4 separate regions of the Homo sapiens genome follow, and regions 1, 2 and 3 are each linked to region 4. The links are contacts of gene promoters, found by promoter capture Hi-C in human tissues and cell types (Jung and others, 2019). All regions are on one chromosome and are shown on one strand. The core of a region is centred on a gene start or on the middle of the fragment in contact, and the rest is flanking DNA. Distances in the headings are between cores, read along the strand shown.

Region 1 (2,700 bases), core at 6-2,505, 550 kb after region 4:
AAAGAACAAATCCCTTGAGGCCTGGGGTCATACTTTAATTTTCTTCTTTGGGGATAAATCTTGAGAGCCAACATGCTCAGAAAATAAACAATGACACTTAAGAAATTCCTCACCTCCTCAAAAATAACTTCCCAAAAGCTGGCTCATGGGAACCCTTTTCTTCCATGTCCTAGATTTTTCCAAATAAGTAGTATGTTTATGGAATGGCATCCTCCAGACCAAGCCCTAGAGGGCACGCTGAGGAGAGTGCACTGGGTGGGGTCCATCTGGGCCCTCACACTCACTGGTGGCAGGACCTGGGGTGAGTCGCTCCTCTCTGGACCCCACTTTCTTCACCGGAGAGCTCCTGAGTTTCTTCTATCCTAAGAAGCCTTAGAGATTTGGGTGGAGAGGCAGGAGCAGGGGACAGAGGCCTGAGCAATGCTTGGCCTCAATTTCCTCATCTGTGAAATAAGGCGATTGCTAGATTGTATTTGGCTTTCAATTCTTATGACTCAGAAACCTTAACTTTCAGGTTGGTGCTTCTGTTTTCTAATTCAGAAACCCAGGGATGTCAGAAATTATGGAAACTGACTCATTACAATATAGAAGCCACTTGGCCTCAGGGCGTGAACCATGGTGGAGCAGGGTGATGGTTAACAGTTAAGCTTATATAACGTAAGCTTAAATTGACTTTCTTGTGGCCAGACACAAAACCTTAGCTATCTAAACCTCTTGTCCTGGTAAATAAATGCCTTGAGTATTATAACAGGGCAAAGTTCCTTCTAATAATGTAGGTGCTATCAGACTCAGACTAAACATGTACACTGCTTGGAAAATATGAACCAAAGAAACTGTGGGAGGCCGAGGACGCGCTCCTTGTCAGGCTGATGGGAGGGAAGTGGGGCCCTGGTTGGAGCAGGGGGCACTGCGCTGAGTCTTAGGGGACTCTGTTTCTTCCCTGCAGCTTTGGGCAAGACACCAGGCCCTTAGGAGGCCTCGGTATCCTCATCTGTCAGACTAGGGGCTGGCCCAGCAGATTCCTAAGAAGGCTGTTGGCTCTGATGTGTCATAGTTTTATTTTTATTTTTATTTATTTATTTAGTTATTTATTTAATTAATTAATTTATTTAGAGACAGAGTCTTGCTCTGTTGCCCAGGCTGGTGTGCAGTGGTGCGATCTCAGCTCACTGCGACCTCTGCTTCCCAGGTTCAGATAATCCTTGTGCCTCAGCCTCCTGAGTAGCTGGGATTACAGGCGTGAGCCACCACACCTGCCTAATTTTTTTTTTTTTTGTATTTTTAGTAGAGACAGGGTTTTGCCATGTTGGCCAGGCTGATCTCAAACTCCTGGCCTCAAATGATCTGCCCAGCTTGGCCTCCCAAAGTGCTGGGATTACAGATGTGAGCCACTGCACCCAGCCTGACATGCCATAGTTTCAGCATTTTCTTGGGCAATGATCCAAGCTGAAGGCTGGTCTGAGGGATCTGAAGAAGCGTATGAGTTGGAAGAGAGGGACAGAAAGGAAGAAGACATGTGAAGAGAGAAAAGGAAGGAAGCTAGCAGAGGAATGCCCTCCAATAGAGACTGCTGCCTGAAGCTCAGCCCCTCTGAAGATAGGTAGGCCAGGCTGGCTTGGCTGAGGCAGTGGTTAGACCAGCCCTGCCCATTTTCAAAGTCCACAGACATCTTGGATGTCAGAAGCCACAGGTTTTGATCTGAGTGGCAGGTGAGCCATCCTGCTGTCAGCTGATTCTCACTTGGAACTGCAGGCAGGGGCAGCTCTGCCTCAGGGATCAGGAGGGAGGGTTGCCTGCCCAAGGGGGAGAGGCATGTCTGTCTGGTACTCCAGGGGTTAGGATTATCCTTCCAGAGTAAGAGCCTTGGGGGCCTCCAGGTCTGAGGAGGGAGTCCCGCCCTCCAAACCCAAGCCTGGGTTTTGGCAGCAGCATTCTTTACTAACCTACCTCTGTTCTTGTTTTGACTTAGATTCTCTCACATGAGGATATTTTCCTGGCTGCACCCTGCAAAAGGGAGACACCCCTAGCTGATCACCAGCCAAGAGAGGCAAAAAGACCTCACACTAGAGAGGCCAGGGAGGGAGAGCACAAGCCTAGCAGTCTCCCTGAGAGCCGCCCGGCCCTAGCCCATTGACAAGTCTCATTTCTCTTCAACCAGTAATAAGCCTGGTGGTGTCAGTTAACTTCTGTGTTGGCTATCCACACACCTGAGTCCCAGGAGCATAAGGGTTCCAACAGATGCTCCTCTGCAGCTTCCCACAGCCCCATGCCCACAAGGAAACCCACCTGTCCAGTTTTCAATGTAACAAGAACAATTTCTGTAGCTCAGGTGTACTATTTCCAGAGAAGCTGTGAATCCCTTCCTATGTCACTTCAAGCACCACCCCACTGGGACCAAGTCTAAAAGCCTTTGATCTCACTCAATAGTACAAAAAGTTTCCAAGTAAAGAATTTGTACTCAGGAGGCTTGAAAAGACTCAAGGTTTCTACACTATGGGAAATAAGGCAAAGCAATTAATATTTGTTGTAAAGAAAAAAAAAAAAACAAACTGCAGTCAGTCAGGCAAGACACCAGGTTAGCTGTTAGTTAGGTTTGTTTCTGGGAAGTTAGAGACTGGAGCTCTACGTGGGACCTGGCAGTGGCGAGGCAGTCTGTGTGGGCAGAGACAGGCACCACCACCAGCTGCCAAGGCCACCCTC
Region 2 (2,706 bases), core at 37-2,536, 880 kb after region 4:
CCATTTGTTGGAGCCCTCCAGTGCATCCTGCACGGCTACGCCTTTTTGTTTTGTTTTGCAGCTCTGTCGCCCAGGCCGGAGTGCAGTGGCGCCAGCTCGGCTCTCTGCAGCCTCAATCCCCTGGGCTCAAGGGATCCTCCCACCTCAGCCTCCTGAGTAGCTAGGACCATAGGCGCGCGCCACCACGCCCAGTTCATTTTTAAAAATTTTATTGTAGAGATGGGGTTGCCATGTTGGCCAGGCTGGTCTCAAACTCCTGGGCTCAAGTGATCCGCCCGCCTTGGCCTCGCAAAGTGCTGGGATTACAGGCGTGAGGCCCCGCGCCCGGCAACGCCTTTGCTGACTGCTTCAAAACTTTTTTGAATTGACTGTAGTCATTATCTATAGCTTAGCCTTAGCCTTGCGCCCGTTCGTTTCCTGGAGTTTTCTTCCAGAGTCCCCGTAGGAGGTGCCCCCACGCCCATCTCCAGCACCAAGGAGGCTCGACGCCAACCCCAGCGCGCCCCCACGCTCGCCGTCACCGGGACGTGACTCGTGAAACGTCCGCTCCGGGCGGCGGCGGCAGCGGCGGCAGGCTGGCTTGTACCCCGACAACGCGCGTCTGGCTTCTGCCGGACGTTCCTATCTGGGTTCAGAACTGGGGCCGGGTGCTGCAGGTCCCGCAGTCTGAGAAGTTTTCGCGGGTTTCAGAAGTTTCCTTAGGCGTTCTAAGGGCTTTACTCAGGTGGAGTCTCCATTCAGGCACTTATTTAACCACCCATTTCTCCTTTAGGGGTCCTCGCTGCTCGCCCAGCCGCTAATTAAGTGACGGACACAGTAGCTAAGGAGACTGCCTGATTGACACGCATGATTACCAACCGACTTCCGGAAACTCCAGTCAGGGCCTGCCCGGCGCGTGGCCCACGGCCCAATTAAAGAAGTGGAAGCGCCAAAGGGGGAGGTAACGGAGCGGCCTACGTTGTGGCGGTTCCCTGGTGAATGCGCCCTGGGGTTGAGGCGTCTGCGGGCGTTCGGACGATGCCGTGACGCGGCACGGCGACACTGTTGGCAATATGAGCGCACCCCTGTAGAGGGAGCCCTTCGGTCCTGGAGGCGGCGCGGCGTGAAGACAGGTTGCTATTTGAGAGCGTTCCCTTGAAGCCCCTCAGAGAGTGGGGGAGGGGCGGCGGACGGCAAGCGGTTCCTGTCTGCGCTTGCGCCGGCGCCTCTGCCGACCCGGCCTGCACGCACGCGCATGCCCGTAGCGCGCGGAGCCGCGGTGGCCGGCAGCACTGCGCGTGCGCGGTGAGGAGCCCGCTAAGGAGCGGCGCTGGCGGACGTCGGGCTGGCTGCCCGTGACGTCGTGCGGAGAGCTTTAAAGTGCGGGCCGGGCCGGGCGTCCGAGGGTCTGGTCGGGAGTCGGGCCGCGTCTCCGCAGCAGCCCTCCGCGGCATGAGGCGCTGCCGGCGCCCCTGCCCCGCGGGACGTGGAGAAGGTGGAGGAGGAAGAAGCCCCGTTGTCGCCACCGTTGCATGACCCGCCGCTCCTGAGGCCCTACCCCACGCCCGGACCCTCGACGCCCCCCGCCGGGTCCCCCACTCACGCATGGGGGTTCGGCGCTAAGGACCCCCCTCCCTCCGGGGGCCCCGGGGCGCGTCCCCTTAGAGCCATGCCCGGCTGCCCCGCCCGCCCCGGAGGACCCTAGAGCAGCGTCGTGGGGGCCATGGCGGCCGCCAGCGGCTACACGGACCTGCGTGAGAAGCTCAAGTCCATGACGTCCCGGGACAACTATAAGGCGGGCAGCCGGGAGGCCGCCGCCGCTGCCGCAGCCGCCGTAGCCGCCGCAGCCGCAGCCGCCGCTGCCGCCGAACCTTACCCTGTGTCCGGGGCCAAGCGCAAGTATCAGGAGGACTCGGACCCCGAGCGCAGCGACTATGAGGAGCAGCAGCTGCAGAAGGAGGAGGAGGCGCGCAAGGTGAAGAGCGGCATCCGCCAGATGCGCCTCTTCAGCCAGGACGAGTGCGCCAAGATCGAGGCCCGCATTGACGAGGTGGTGTCCCGCGCTGAGAAGGGCCTGTACAACGAGCACACGGTGGACCGGGCCCCACTGCGCAACAAGTACTTCTTCGGCGAAGGCTACACTTACGGCGCCCAGCTGCAGAAGCGCGGGCCCGGCCAGGAGCGCCTCTACCCGCCGGGCGACGTGGACGAGATCCCCGAGTGGGTGCACCAGCTGGTGATCCAAAAGCTGGTGGAGCACCGCGTCATCCCCGAGGGCTTCGTCAACAGCGCCGTCATCAACGACTACCAGCCCGGCGGCTGCATCGTGTCTCACGTGGACCCCATCCACATCTTCGAGCGCCCCATCGTGTCCGTGTCCTTCTTTAGCGACTCTGCGCTGTGCTTCGGCTGCAAGTTCCAGTTCAAGCCTATTCGGGTGTCGGAACCAGTGCTTTCCCTGCCGGTGCGCAGGGGAAGCGTGACTGTGCTCAGGTAACCCACCCGGGTGGAGGGGGCGGCCCTGCGCCTGCTGCCTTAGCTACCCACCCTGGCCCAGAAAGCAGCAGCCCGTAGGAGTCTGCGTTTTTTACAGTTCTGACCAGTTCTTCTGTTTGTAGATTGTAGGGAGCGAGAGAAGGGTTTTGTGTTTAAGATACCTATAGCAAGAAAATAGGGAACCGATGTGGAAATCCTGTCCCCGAAGGCAGGTTTGACGGGATCACTGAC
Region 3 (2,709 bases), core at 148-2,647, 740 kb after region 4:
ACTGCCTGTGAAGTTCTGGATTTTCTAAAACAGGCAGTGTCAGGGAAAAGTCCCTCATACCTTGCTGTCACCCTGGACACGTTCTAGATACCCAACACTCTCCCACCTTTTTGCTGAACTCCTACTCATCTATCATGGCTCAGCTTAAACAAACGCCCTTTCACCCAAGACCCATTCTAAACCCTGAACATCCCCAAGATGGGAGTAAGCGATTCTCTGTGTTCTCACAGTTTCTTTGTATGTCCCTTATCAGGATATTATAAACCACAATTTAATCAGAATATTATAACCTTTTGCAATGAACAGTGAACATCATTCAGGTGGGCCTTTTTCTTCTTTAATTGAGCTTCTCTACCAATACATACAGGTGGGTCTTAAAGACAACCGTGCCTCCTGCCTCCAGCACAATAAAACTAATTGAATGGTGGGAGGGTGTTACTGCTCTTCATTCACTGAAATGAGTCATTCTCACTCTTACCCTGACACCACTCACCATCAGCAATGAAAGAGCCACTACTTCTAAGCTTCATCAGAGTTGGAGGTGGAGGTGACTCCACAGTCAGAGGTGGAGGTGTCAATTTCTATTTAGGAGAGAAGGCTGCAGATGGCAGAGGTTGTGGTAGGAGGGAAAGTCAGGAAACCTGCAGCAGAAGTGCCCGGGATGGAGGAATGAAGGCCCAGGTTCTAGGTCCCTTCTGGGCAGGTCTTGTGTTGGGCAGTGGAGACACGGAAAACAGTCAGACAGACACCACAAACCTCTGAGAGAGTCTGCCTGTAACCCAGACGAAGTCCTGATTCAGAGCCCAAACTTCCCCTTTTGAAAACAAAGATGACACCTGCTTTCCTTATTAAAGGGAGGGCAGCCATAAGCTTTGAGAAAACCTGCACAGGCCAAATATCAATTACTGTATCGTGCGTGACTCGCTGTTCCCTCTCGGGTCGTCTGCCCTTGTCTGGGCTTCACTTTCTCATCTGTAAAAAGACCTGACTGGCCTGCATAACCTCATGAGCCTGAACCCTGCCTCAGTTACTTCGCTTTGCACAGCCGAAGCCCGAAGCCCACCTTACCCCAGCTCGGCCCCAACCCAAAAGAACATGTCATGGTCTTACCTGTCGGCGGGGCGTAAGCCCGGGCTGGAGACGGGATGGTTGGCCCCGGACTCATAGAAGCGCTGGGGCCACCCGCCGGCCGATTCAGGAGACGGCGTCCCCCGTCCCGCAGCCGGAGGCAGCTCCTCCACATCGCGCCCGAGGGTCTGGGAAGATGCGAGACGCGAAACCTGGAGCAGGAAACACAGAGCGATGGGATCCCCAAAGCCGCACGGTCGGGCTGTACGGAAACCTCTCAACGCCTCCTCAGAGCCCTCAACCTCCCTTGGACGCCGCCATCTTCCGCATGACACCTACGGCGCGCCGTCGCCGCCGCGCGCCTCCTGCGCACACCCCCAGTCAATCAGCATCACAAACGCACCTCGCCCCGCCCCCTCCACGCCGCGCCTCGGCGAGGAGACTACAAGTCCCAGCGGGCCGCTCGCGCACCGCGCCACGTGTTTTCTCCTCCCGCCAATGGGCGGAAGCGCCGCCTGAGCCTGCTCCCGCCCCCCAGGCTCGCCTGAGCCAATCGGAAGGGGCGGGGTGTGTGTGTGTCTGTGTGTGTTTGTGTGTTGTGTGTCTGTGAGTGTCTGTGTGTGTGTATGTGTGCGCGAGGGCAAGTCGGGAGGGGGACCCAGCTCAGGACTGGGAGGCCCTGCTCGCAGGTCCCTGGGTCCCGGTGGCGGCCGGAGCGCTTGCTCCGCAGGCAGCGGGCGGGTGGTCGCCCCTCCCGCCCCCACCCCGCGCGTGCGCGCCCCGGCCTCTCCCTCCCCGCCACCCTCCTCGGCTCCCGCGCGGCGGCGGCGGTTCCTCTCCCACTCCCCCCAGCCCTGGCTCCGGGGGACCCCGCGATGCCGGTCCGCACCGAGTGTCCCCCGCCGGCCGGTGCCTCCGCTGCCTCCGCGGCCTCACTCATCCCGCCGCCGCCCATCAACACCCAGCAGCCCGGCGTGGCCACCAGCCTGCTCTACAGCGGCTCCAAGTTCCGCGGCCACCAGAAGAGCAAGGGGAACTCGTACGACGTAGAGGTGGTGCTGCAGGTGAGCGCCGGGCCGGGCCGGGGCCCGAGGGCCTCCTCGCGGCGCTCACGGGCCGTGCCCGCTTCGGCTCCTCGACCCCGCAGCCGCGGAACAGGCCCTCGCCGCCGGGGCCTCCTGCACCCGGCGCTTCCCACCCGGGACCTTCCCAGCCTGTGTCTCACACTCTCCGAGCCCCAGCCCTGACCTGCCCCTTCGGACCCAGAGCCCGTCGTGACCGGCTCCTGGCGGACCCCGAACACTCCCAGACTTGAAGCCCGTGACCGGCCCGTCTGGGATCCGGAAGCCCCTCATGACTCGGAGAAGGCCTGGGTCCTTCCTCCCCATGACCTGTCGTCCCTAGATCAGGGACTGCCACCAGCCCTTTTCAGACCCTGAAGAACTCTCCATTGGTTTCACCAGACTTGGGACCCTCCCCATGTCTGGGCCCACGTCAGATTCTCTCAGACCTGAGACATGTCCTCCTGCCCCTTCCTCAGTTCCAGGAATCCGCAGACCTTGGGGTCTTCCTCCTCCTGAGATCTCCTTAGGAGGGCTTCATCAGACCCCCAGACGGGGGAGCACCTAACCCGCAACTGAT
Region 4 (2,843 bases), core at 258-2,757:
AGCCTGGCCAACATGGTGAAACCCTGTCTCTACTAAAAATACAAAAATCGGCCGGGTGCGGTGGCTCACACCTGTAACCCCGGCACTTTGGGAGGCCGAGGCGGGCAGATCACAAGGTCAGGAGTTGGAGATCAGCCTGGCTAACATAGTGAAACCCTGTCTCTACTAAAAATGCAAAAAAGCTGGGTGTGGTGGTGGGCGCCTGTAATCCCAGCCACTTGGGAGGCTGAGGCAGGGGAATCGCTTGAACCTGGGAGGTGGAGGTTGCAGTGAGCCGAGATCCTGCCACTGCACTCCAGCCTGGGCAACAAGAGCAAGACTCCCTATCAAGAAAAAAAAAAAAAAAAGGGAGAGAATGTGGTACATATATACCATAGAATACTTCACAGTCATAAAAAAAGAATAAGATCATGTCTTTTGCAGCCATATGGATGGAGCTGGAGACAATTATCCTAAGCAAACACAGGAACAGAAAATTAAATACCTCATGCTCTCACTTAAAAGCGGGAACTAAACATTAAGTAAACATGGACGTAATGATGGGGACAACAGACACGGTGACCTACTTGAGGGTGGAGAGTGGGAGGAGGGTGAGGATGGAAAAACTACCTATCAGGAACTACGCTTATTACCTGGGTAATAATAATCTGTACACTAAACCCCCAAGACAGTCAATTTATATAACAAATCTGCACATGTATCCCTGTACTTAAAAGTTGAAAAGAGGCCGGGCGCGGTGGCTCACGCCTGTAATCCCAGCACTTTGGGAGGCTGAGGTGGGAGGATCGTTTGAGCCCAACATAGGAAGACTCCTGTCTCAAAAAAAAAAAAAAAAAAAAAAAAATTACCAGGGTGTGGTGGCAGGCCCCTGTGGTCCCAGCTACTCAGGAGGCAGAAGCAGGACGATCCCTTGGGCCCAGAAACTCAAGGCTGCAGGGAACCGAGATCATGCCACTGCTTCCACCCTGGGTAACAGAGCAAGACCCCGTCTCCAAAAAAAAAAAAAAAAAAAAGCAATACAGGGGTACTTAATATTTATTCATATATTTACCTGAGAATCATCAGTTTTACTAAGGCTGTATGATGTTAGCAGATATTGGTTCTATCAGTCTCTCCGCAGACATTTGCTGTAAATAAAGCAGAGAGGCTTTCAGAGTGCACCCTGTTTTTGTTCCTCCATCCTGTTGTCTGGATCCCCTTCTAAAACGTAAGTTCCAGGATGGCAGGAACTTTGTCTATTTGGTTCACACTCGACACAGTTAGTGCTCAAAAATGTCTAACGACACAGGCCTGCTTCTCGGTTTGCACTGCTCCTCCATGGTAGTCTGTGCAGTGGGAGAAGGCAGCCCGGGCCCAGGGTCCACGGAGAAGACGCAAATCGACAGCGCGGGAGCGCGGACCTTCTGGAGGCGCGCGGCGCTTACCGCTGTCCGTCCTCGAAGCCCCGCCCCGGGGCTCCGCCTCCGCCGGCGCGTGTTCCTTTAGGGACCGCGCGCGCCGCGGCCTCGCTCTGGGGCCGGTACTTGCGCGCCCGCACCCCGCGCTCCCCGCCCCGCTCCCCGTCCCGCGCTCCACGCGCGCCCCAGCGTTGGGGGCTTCTCCTCCGCGGCGGGAATGTCTGGCCGGCTCCGGCAGCACGGCGCGGCCCAGGTCCCCGCGCCCACGACGGGCCAGCGCGCTGGGCCATGATCCGGCTGGGCGGCTGGTGTGCGCGGCGGCTCTGCAGCGCGGCGGTTCCCGCGGGGCGGCGCGGGGCGGCGGGCGGGCTGGGCCTGGCGGGAGGCCGCGCCCTACGGGTGCTGGTGGACATGGACGGCGTGCTGGCTGACTTCGAGGGCGGATTCCTCAGGAAGTTCCGCGCGCGCTTTCCCGACCAGCCCTTCATCGCGCTGGAGGACCGGCGCGGCTTCTGGGTGTCGGAGCAGTACGGCCGCCTGCGGCCAGGGCTGAGCGTGAGCGTCCCCGCCCCGCCCCGCGCCGGGCCTCCTTCTCGCCCCGAGCCCCAGACACCGCCCCTGCGCCGGTGACCTTGGACGGTCAGCGCCCCAGCCTCGGGGTGGCCCTCTGATAGAATAGGGTCTGGGGGGGACTAGGGGCCACAGCGCACCGGGAAGATGCGGCCCCGCGCTCAGGATCTGTTGGCTGCCATCCAAGGTTTCTGAAAATGCGGGAGAGTACAAAGTGTTAATATACCTAACTCTGCATTTAAAGCTGACTTCAAAATTTGTGGCATATTTGGCCTCAAGTCGTTTGTTAAATTTTTAGAAAAATAAACGTTATAAGTTGTCCTCTTTCACCCCGACCGCAGTCACATTCCCACTTCTTTGTCCCCAGGACTTTGATGGGTGTCTTTACCCATCTTTTTTACTGTTGTCCATGAAAGCATAGCTTCCAGGGGTATTTGAGGCCCAGAGAGGTTGTGTGACTTTCTGGGGGTCACACAGTGAGTCAGTGGTCCAGGTGAGGTGGGATCCACCTCATGTCTTATCCCCTTGCAGAGCTGGCCTTGCTGAACACCTGAGCTCAACCCCTACCATCCGACTCCCGAGGTGTTCTGTCCAGGATGGATAGAGGGGAAAGATCCAAGGAGGGACGTTTACACACAGATCTTGGTTGGTAAATTTGAAGTATTTTGCAAAAGGAACAGGGGATTTTGGTATGCACAAAATTAAAGAGGCTGAGTGTTTTTTGGCATCCCTTGATTGGCCACCTAGGGTTGCTGCTGGAGGGTTTGATAAAGAGGAGAAGGAAGTTACAAGAGCCCGTTTTTTAGCCACAAGTTCACTGCATCCTCTCTTTTGTTGGGTAGATATTATTATCTCTGTTTTCCAGATGAGGAAACT

What was found. The method cuts DNA at HindIII sites, captures the fragments that hold promoters and counts their contacts. A contact is called where the count stands out against the background at its distance.
Region 1: a fragment that was not itself captured here is called in contact with the fragment with the promoter of NT5M in region 4 in 1 of the 25 tissues and cell types used here (spleen).
Region 2: a contact is called between the fragment with the promoter of ALKBH5 here and the fragment with the promoter of NT5M in region 4, in 1 of the 25 tissues and cell types used here (spleen).
Region 3: the fragment with the promoter of ATPAF2 here is called in contact with the fragment with the promoter of NT5M in region 4 in 2 of the 25 tissues and cell types used here (heart right ventricle and mesenchymal stem cells).

What each region holds. Positions count from the first base shown.
Region 1 is chr17:17,853,431-17,856,130 of GRCh38, forward strand. All of the region lies in intron 12 of TOM1L2 (target of myb1 like 2 membrane trafficking protein), which reads right to left. Among named protein-coding and RNA genes, the nearest start is that of SREBF1, 18 kb to the left of the region's middle. The HindIII fragment of the contact is 7,112 bases long and covers 1-2,700 here.
Region 2 is chr17:18,182,542-18,185,247 of GRCh38, forward strand. ALKBH5 (alkB homolog 5, RNA demethylase) reads left to right here and starts at 1,287. Exons shown (of 4, transcript NM_017758.4): 1 at 1,287-2,472. The coding sequence starts at 1,703. RefSeq lists enhancers at 675-874, 935-1,174, 1,282-2,119 and silencers at 1,385-1,684, 1,765-1,854, 2,013-2,164. The HindIII fragment of the contact is 6,004 bases long and covers 1-2,706 here.
Region 3 is chr17:18,037,771-18,040,479 of GRCh38, forward strand. ATPAF2 (ATP synthase mitochondrial F1 complex assembly factor 2) reads right to left here and starts at 1,398. Exons shown (of 8, transcript NM_145691.4): 1 at 1,111-1,398. The coding sequence starts at 1,243. GID4 (GID complex subunit 4 homolog) reads left to right here and starts at 1,638. Exons shown (of 6, transcript NM_024052.5): 1 at 1,638-2,132. The coding sequence starts at 1,695. RefSeq lists enhancers at 1,057-1,126, 1,137-1,186, 1,327-1,436, 2,587-2,646 and silencers at 1,547-1,636, 1,647-2,236. The HindIII fragment of the contact is 10,779 bases long and covers 698-2,709 here.
Region 4 is chr17:17,301,866-17,304,708 of GRCh38, forward strand. It overlaps NT5M (5',3'-nucleotidase, mitochondrial), which reads left to right and starts at 1,508. Exons shown (of 5, transcript NM_020201.4): 1 at 1,508-1,952. The coding sequence starts at 1,686. RefSeq lists silencers at 1,438-1,607, 1,658-1,757, 1,888-2,077. The HindIII fragment of the contact is 23,347 bases long and covers 1-2,843 here.